Linked DNA regions of Homo sapiens: regions 2 and 3 are each linked to region 1. Evidence: promoter capture Hi-C in human tissues and cell types (Jung and others, 2019). All regions are on one chromosome and are shown on one strand. The core of a region is centred on a gene start or on the middle of the fragment in contact, and the rest is flanking DNA. Distances in the headings are between cores, read along the strand shown. Region 1 holds the start of RUNX2 (RUNX family transcription factor 2). Region 2 overlaps SUPT3H (SPT3 homolog, SAGA and STAGA complex component). Region 3 overlaps SUPT3H (SPT3 homolog, SAGA and STAGA complex component).

Region 1 (2,968 bases), core at 347-2,846:
ATGAACCAAAAGCAGATAATGAATAGCACTAGGAAGAACACAGGGATATTTTAGTTCTAACACCCTCCTGTCTCCCTAGCCCTTACCTCCCTGCACATTCCAAATAATCTTTTGTAATTCACTGTCTCCGCCCACCCCATTTACTTTATGCCACTCCTAGTTACTGTCACACTAGGAAGAAGTCTAACATGCAGATTTAGAGTGGCATGGATAAATGGCAAAAAAATGCCTAGAAAATTGGTCTGTTCGCCTTTATAATTTTGGTTGAAAAATACTCCATCGCTCCCAACTGATGAAAACAGGAAGCTCTATTCATAAATATAAAATTCACTGCCTATGATATATAATCATCCTAATAAGAAAATGAGTTCTATACATACTTGTCCAAAGGGGCAAAAAAGGAGATAGTTTCCCAAAGATGTTTCCAATTTTCTTCTGAATCAGAATTAGCAAATCGAGACGACTAACATACTCTGTCTGTGGGCATTATTCCTTACTACACACAGCATTTTGTAATTTATTTCAAAGCTTCCATTAGAAACAAAAAAATACATAGCTTCTGTTAACCCACTCTATTCTAAGCTCATAGAATCAAATACTGAACAATCTACATTATAACATAAGCATTTTACTTTATAGAAGATCTGCTATCAGAAACTCTATTAATGTCTAAACTACTTAAAGAACTATATAAACTGAATACACTTCAATGAAAGACAAAAAATATTACAATCATAAAGAAAACTAAGATTCATCCAATAAACTATATTACAATCCCTGTCATTCATTTTTTTAAGATCTTCAAACTAGGCATGAGATAATGGTATACATGAAACATTACATTTAATCTTTATTGTAAAGGCCGCCATCTAATAGATTGATAATAAACTAGACAGACGTGATTTAAAATTTGTAAAAGAATGCCCAGACTAACACTTTCATGACAGCCAATTATAGTCAAGCCTAGCAAGCAGTTTGCAACCAGACCTTAAGGTAAACTTTTTTTTTTTTTACAATGAGTTACAGATTCACAAGTTTAAGAAGACAAGAAAAAGGAAAACAGAAGGAATCCAGCCACCCAGCAAATATGAAGCAGACCCCAGAATGTGATACAGTCCAAAGATGTGAATTATTGTATATCATCACTGTTGTTCAGAATTTCACACAGACTCTTGAGCCAATTTTGTTCATTTTTCCACAGACACAATAATGAACTAAAAAGAGGAGGCAAAAAGGCAGAGGTTGAGCGGGGAGTAGAAAGGAAAGCCCTTAACTGCAGAGCTCTGCTCTACAAATGCTTAACCTTACAGGAGTTTGGGCTCCTTCAGCATTTGTATTCTATCCAAATCCTCATGAGTCACAAAAATTAAAAAGCTATATCCTTCTGGATGCCAGGAAAGGCCTTACCACAAGCCTTTTGTGAGAGAAAGAGAGAGAGAGAAAGAGCAAGGGGGAAAAGCCACAGTGGTAGGCAGTCCCACTTTACTTAAGAGTACTGTGAGGTCACAAACCACATGATTCTGCCTCTCCAGTAATAGTGCTTGCAAAAAAAAGGAGTTTTAAAGCTTTTGCTTTTTTGGATTGTGTGAATGCTTCATTCGCCTCACAAACAACCACAGAACCACAAGTGCGGTGCAAACTTTCTCCAGGAGGACAGCAAGAAGTCTCTGGTTTTTAAATGGTTAATCTCCGCAGGTCACTACCAGCCACCGAGACCAACAGAGTCAGTGAGTGCTCTCTAACCACAGTCTATGCAGTAATAGTAGGTCCTTCAAATATTTGCTCATTCTCTTTTTGTTTTGTTTCTTTGCTTTTCACATGTTACCAGCTACATAATTTCTTGACAGAAAAAAATAAATATAAAGTCTATGTACTCCAGGCATACTGTAAAACTAAAACAAGGTTTGGGTATGGTTTGTATTTTCAGTTTAAGGCTGCAAGCAGTATTTACAACAGAGGGTACAAGTTCTATCTGAAAAAAAAAGGAGGGACTATGGCATCAAACAGCCTCTTCAGCACAGTGACACCATGTCAGCAAAACTTCTTTTGGGGTAAGTGTTACCATTTTTAAAATCCTGTAAGATATGAACCTGTTAAACATAAAGGTATGATTCTTTGATAAACTGCTAGCTTTTCCAAATAGCATATTAAAGATCCTAATTATGCTATCTTGTTGCATTAAGAATTGAAAAATGAAATTTCTGTATATATTTGCATTTGGTATCTGTAATGTATCTAATTTTCAAAGTAATGACTTGAAATATACAAAATTAAATTATCTCACATTGATCAAAATGTTTTCTAGAGTTATAGAGGTGAGGATATGAAAACAGTAAAAGAAACAGTTTAATACTCTCATTAACCCTCACCAGAAGAAAAGTCAGATCCTAAATTAATCAAAGCATTATAAATTATTGACTCCGGCAGCTCCCAATATTTGAGCAAACTTCAAAAAGGAAGCAATTTTACAAAATAACAGACCACAGAATTATCTCAACATTATGGTCTACCATGTATAACACAGAAATAAACCTGTAGTACAGTTAACATTTTAACCAGCTCAACTAAAAGAAATCTACTTATAAATTCAAACTGTATCCTATCTAAATAAGTTTGTTTCTAAACAACTTTATATAAGTATACATTCAGCTGAAATAAAATTATGATAAGCACATCACAGCCATTTTTAAAAGATCTTTATAGTTGCCCAGGATATTAAAAAGTTCATGGAAGTATTTTAAAACTTACATGCAACTGCATTTTTCTATGTAATTTTAATTTTACATCTACACACTGTTATCCATAGACCTTGTTATAAACACACTGAAACACTGAAACGTCTAAGATTCTTTTAATCACATTCTTGGACCTACCAAAATGAATAACTGCTGTTTAGTCTCATGAAAAATAAAGCTCCATAAGGATACCCTGTATGATTTTTAAAAGCCACAACTATTAAACCATGCTG
Region 2 (2,968 bases), core at 247-2,746, 250 kb before region 1:
TTCAAATAATATTACTGGGCTATAGTAACCAAAACTGTATGGTGTTGGCATCAAAACAGATACACAGAACAGTGGAACAGAAAAGAGAACCCAGAACAAATACATACATCTACAGTGAACTCACTTTCGAGAAAGATGCCAAGAACATACATTGGGCAAAGGACAGTCTCTTCAATAAACAGTTCTGGGAAAATTGGATATCCATATGCAGAAGAATGAAACTAGACCCACATCTCTTGCCATGTACAGAAGTCAAGTCAAAATGGATTAAAGACTTAAATCTAAGACCTCAAACTATGAAACTATTCATAGAACTCACTAGGAATACTCTATAGGGCATTGGACTGGACAAAGATTTCTTGAGTAATACCCCACCAGCATAGGCAATCAAAGTAAAAATGAACAAATGAGATTACATCAAATTGCAAAGCTTCTGCACAGCAAAGGAAACAATCAACAAAGTAAGAGACAACCCACAAAATGGGAGAAAATATTTGTAAACTATCCATCTCACAAGGGTTCAATAACCAGAATATATAAGGAGCTCAAACAATTCAATAGGAAAAAATCTAATAATCTGATTAAAACATGGGCAAAAGATCTGAAGAGACATTTCTCAAAAGAAGACAAACAGTACACAAGTATATGAAAAAGTGCTTTACAACTGATCGTCAGAGAAATGCAAATCAAAACTAAAATGAGGTAGTATCTCACCCCAGTTAAAATGGCTTTTATCCAAAAGGCAATAACAAATATTGGTGAGAATGTGGAGGAAAGGGAACTCTCATACATGTTGGTTTGAATGTAAATTAGTACAATCACTACGCAGAACAGTTTGGAGGTTCCTCAGAAATCTAAAAACAGAGCTACCATATGATCCAGATATACCTCTGCTAGGTATATCCCAGAAAAAAGGAAATCAATATATTGAAAAGATATCTGCATTCCCGTGTTTACTAGTCACAATAGTAAAGATTTGGAAGCAACATAAGTGTCCATCAACAGAAGAATGAATAAAGAAAATGTGGCATATACGCAATGAAGTACTATTCAGCCATTAAAAAAAAAAGATTCTGTTATTTGCAACAACATAGATGGAACTGGAGGTCATTAAGTGAAATAAGCCAGGCACACAAAAACCGACTTCACTTGTTCTCACTTATTTATGGAGGCTAAAAATTAAAACAATTGAACTCATGGACACAGAGAGTAGACAGATGGTTACCAGAGGCTGAGAAGGGAAATGAAGAAGTGGAGGTAAAGTGGGGATGGTTAATGGGTACAAAAAACAGAAAGAATAAATAAGGTCTAGTATGTGACAGCAGAACAGAGTGACTACAATCAATAATAATTTAACTATAGCTGTAAAAATAACTAAGAGTATAAATGGATTGCAGTAGAAAGCACAAATGCTTGAGGTGATGGATGCCTCATTTACCCTGATAAAATTACTATCCATTTTATGCCTGTATCAGAAAATCTCATATATCCCATATATATATGTACATATATACGTATATATGTACATATATATATACAACTATGTATCCACAAGAATTTAAAAATTAAGAAATTAAATGAATAAATAAACAAAACCTTCTCTCCTGAACAAAGCCAAAGAGAGTGAAATTGACAGAGAGAAAAACAATGCCTACATAATCTGGTCCCTATCTTACTTTTACATTTCAGCTCGTCCCATTTGATCCTTAACTCACTTCACTCCAGAAATACTGATATTTCTGTTTCTGGAGTACATTCCAATCTCAGTACCTTTATACTCCCTGTTAATACATGGTATTCTCCTTCACATTATTTAATTCTTTGCTCATGTATCATCTTCTCTGAGGTAATCTAACATTATTACTCCCAGTCCTTGTCCTAGATTATTTCCTTCATAGTAGTTAACACTATGTGATACTATTTATTCATTTACTTATTGTCCTTCTTGCATACCAAAATATAAGCTCCATTAGAGAAGAGACTTTCTTGTATATACCATTATATCCCCAGTACCTAAAACAATGGTTGCCACATTTATCAATAAGTCTTTGATGAGTGAATGAATGATAGAGCTCCTCTGTGGCTAGAAATCACCATCCAATCTAACTCTACGTCTTATATATACACTATAATTGTGGAAACAGGATTTTCTATCATATCTGAATCCACATACTTATACACCATTTAACAGGGTTCTACCTTAAGAGTGGCAATAAAAACACTGCAGTAGCTGCAGAATATTTTACTCTTGGGCCTGATAAAATATTGACAGAAACAATTCTAAAAGAACTGCCTGCTCAGCAATTTCAGCCAATTTTTGAGCCTGGAAAAAATAGGGGGAAAAAATCAAGTGAACTTTCACTCAGTTACATGAAAATGCAATGCATTAGTTTTATTTCATTTGGGCTTCTAAATAAAATAAGCAATTTAAATAAAGCCAATCAACTTGCAAATAAAGAAAGTGCCACATCTATGGCATTTTACACAAACTAGAAAATCTAGAGGAAATGGATAAATTCCTGGAAATACATAACCTCCCAATATTAAATCAGGAAGAAATTGAAACTCTGAACAGACCAATACTGAGTTCCAGAATTAAATCAGTAATAAAAAGCCTACCAACCAGAAAAAGCCCCAGACCAGACAGATTAACAGCTGAACTCTACCAGACATACAAAGAGTTGATATCAATTCTACTGAAACTATTCCAAAAAAATGAGGAAGAGGGACTCCTCCCTAACTCATTCTATGAAACTAGCATCACTCTGATGCCAAAAGCTGGCAAAGACACAACAACAACAACAAAAAGAAAACTTCAGGCCAATATCTCTGACAATTGTAGACACAAAAATCATTAACAAAATACTAGCAAACCAAGTCCAGCAGCACATCAAAAAGTTAACTGACCACGATCAATTAGGCTTTATTCCTGAGATGCAATGTTTGTTCAACATATATGTCAATAAAT
Region 3 (2,968 bases), core at 171-2,670, 210 kb before region 1:
GCAATACCAGGCAATTAATTATTTATAATAGTTAATATCAATAAAACAGTAATTAAGACCCTAGCTTAGAGCCTTCACAGAATCCTACAACTTTCAAACTCCTCTGTTTATTATATAAAAGTCTTTGACATCTGGCTTCTCTCTGGTTCCACCCTTATTTCTAGCCATGCACCATTTGTTCCTAAAATATCAAACTCCCTATGGACAGCTGACCACACAATAGGTTTCAGGTCTTCTCACTTTTGTACATGATATTTTCTCTGTCAAATAAGTCTTTGTTTCTTCTTCCATTCAGCCAATGCCTTCCAAACTTAGTTCGAGGGGTACGACCCTTGGGAAATTTTCCATAATACTCATTTGCTGCTCTAAGGCATATTGCACTGATTGCCCTAACTCACCTTTCACCTCATATTATATTCATTCCCATTGCCAAGTAACTTTAAGTAGCCCTGCACTATAACCCTGAGCTCAACCCTGTTATGTTCTTTGGCCAATGGGATATTATTAGCAGCAGAGGCTAAGAAGTGCTTAAGCATTTCAACTTGCACTCTTGCACTCTGCCACTGCCATGAAAGTATGACAAGGCTAATCTGCTGGAAAATTAGAGATACATGAAGCAGAGCTCAGTCACCCCAGTTATCGTAGTTGAGTTATCATAGATCAGCTGGCAGTCAGCTGACCCTCAGATAGATAACAGAGCACAGCTGAGATTGGTGGGGTTGTCTAATCTACTGTCATAGACATATAATCATAAATGCTGAGGTTTCACAATGTTTTGTTATGCAGCATTATTGTGGCAATAAATAACAAATCCCACTCCTAGATGCTTCCATAGCACTCTTCACAACCTCCTCATAGTATAGTTACATAGTTGTATAGTTATGTAGTTACATAGTCATACTTTTACATGAACTAATTTGTCTCTATTCTCCCCTATGCATTTAGAGGAAAATAATCACCTGTTATTTAAATTTGTATTCTGAGCACCTAAGAAGATGCCAGTTGTATGTGGGCACTCAATGTATGTCTAGGGAAGAGAAGGTATGAGGACGGATTCACCTCCCAACTGATTCCACTATTATCTCAGACCACAAGGAGCCTTCCCTATGTTGTGAAAGTTCAGTGGGCACACAAACTAGATACTGTTAGAGCAGATTAAAACCTTAAGCATATAGGCTTTAATATATGCTTATTATATGTATATAGCTGCCTGTTGGATGAGCACAGATGGCCACAAATTCATGTGATTTGTGGGCATAATGTTAACAGGAAAGAGTCAATAATTGCAGCACTTTGGACCAAATAAAGAGTGGAATTAGGTTATGCAGTAAAAGATGCCAGGGCAGAGAATCAAAGGGTGTATTCCTAGAAAACTTAAGATTTTCACATGTAGAAGGAAAAATGTTTGAAATTTCATTAAACTTGGTATGCATTTGGGGCCAAGTAAAAAATATTCAAAAAGGAACCAGATTAATGATTTATTTTTTTTAAAGGCAGCAAATACTTTTAAAAAAGAAAAGGAAAAAAATGAGTCTGAAAATATATACAATTTAGAATCTGTTTAATAATGATAGTTATGACAAAATGACAATGAGTCGATTATATCCATAATACATACTGAGGATTTACTGTTTGCTAGACACCACTGAACTGATTCAAATGTCAAAATGACTCTAAAAGGTAAGTACTATTACTATTGCTACTTCAAGACTTGAAGAGGTTAACTAAATTACCCAAGTAACATAGTTAATAAGTGGCAGAAACGAGATTCCAAATCCCATCAGTCTGACTGCAAACTAAAAAAAACAAAAAACAAACAAACAAAAACCCTCTAACTGCTCTATAATATTGTCTTTCATAGAAACTGAAGAGACTTCGGAAGTAATTTATTTCAGTTTCCACCACAATAAAGAAAATTTTAAAAGTGAAAAGACTATATAGGCTAGGCATGGTGGCTTCTGTTTATAATCCCAGGATTTTGGGAGGTCGAGGAGGGAGGGTCACTTGAGCACAAGAGTTTAAATCCAGTCTGGGTAACAGTGTGAGACCTTGTCTAAAAAAAAAAAAAAAAAAAAAAAAGACTATATAAGCATATATCCAAGTTAGGGTGACTGGAGTAGGATGATGATGATACTTTGATAAAATTGGAAATAACTTTTTGACAACCAGTGTGGTACATGCAGAAATGCAAACCAATATATAAATGCCACAATAGTTGAATTCAGAAGATTAAGAGGAAAACTAAAGAAGTTGAACAACAAATGATGTCTATATCAATAACCAAAAAAAGGAATCTATTAAAAGGCTGAACAAATTCTTCCAAGTCAAAAGCAAATAACTGGCTTCCTCTATTCATGCAAATAGCTGTTTGCCACATGAAATTTATCTTGCTTTTAGGTTTCAAGAATTAAGGGTAAATATTAAAGCTACAAACCTGGGGAACTCCATAGTGTCTTTATGCATAAATCACATAGAAATTTCTCAGGTTCTGAGATAAAGTTCAGGAATAATTGTACTAAACAATGCAAAAATTTCCCAAGGCTAAAATTTGAACAATATTAGAACAATAATATTAGAACAATAATAAGTATAGGTTAACTTCATCATACTATTAATAGATTATAATACAAATATTACACAGAGATTAAAATTGATACTTTGGAACAGGTTGATTATCTAGGTATGTAATTATTATTATATTCAGAGGGAAATATTCCTTGCAGCATAAAGACACCAATACCATTCATATACTGTTTCCAGAGAGTTTGATAAACAGAAAAATTCCACAAAAATCTTGGCCCAGAAACTCTCCACAACCAGGATCTCTGATTTCCATAACCTCTAGATCCTATAGGAGTAAAAATTAGAGCTTCTCTTATGGTGAACAAATTTCCTATCTCAAAGCCCTTGGAGAACGTCCCATTTTTTTCTAGAGAGAGAATGCTTGGGCAACTCTGAGAGGAAAGAA

What was found. Contacts are between HindIII fragments. The study calls those that stand out against the background at their distance.
Region 2: a fragment that was not itself captured here is called in contact with the fragment with the promoter of RUNX2 in region 1 in 1 of the 25 tissues and cell types used here (mesenchymal stem cells).
Region 3: a contact is called between a fragment that was not itself captured here and the fragment with the promoter of RUNX2 in region 1, in 1 of the 25 tissues and cell types used here (lymphoblastoid cells).

Annotation. Positions count from the first base shown.
Region 1 is chr6:45,326,734-45,329,701 of GRCh38, forward strand. RUNX2 (RUNX family transcription factor 2) reads left to right here and starts at 1,597. Exons shown (of 9, transcript NM_001024630.4): 1 at 1,597-1,727; 2 at 1,928-2,051. The coding sequence starts at 1,994. All of the region lies in intron 2 of SUPT3H (SPT3 homolog, SAGA and STAGA complex component), which reads right to left. RefSeq lists a cis regulatory region at 315-321, a promoter at 1,279-1,919 and an enhancer at 1,326-1,366. The HindIII fragment of the contact is 4,056 bases long and covers 16-2,968 here.
Region 2 is chr6:45,079,541-45,082,508 of GRCh38, forward strand. The region is part of intron 3 of SUPT3H (SPT3 homolog, SAGA and STAGA complex component); the gene reads right to left. Among named protein-coding and RNA genes, the nearest start is that of MIR586, 120 kb to the right of the region's middle. The HindIII fragment of the contact is 4,235 bases long and covers 1-2,968 here.
Region 3 is chr6:45,118,363-45,121,330 of GRCh38, forward strand. The region is part of intron 2 of SUPT3H (SPT3 homolog, SAGA and STAGA complex component); the gene reads right to left. Among named protein-coding and RNA genes, the nearest start is that of MIR586, 78 kb to the right of the region's middle. The HindIII fragment of the contact is 4,688 bases long and covers 1-2,968 here.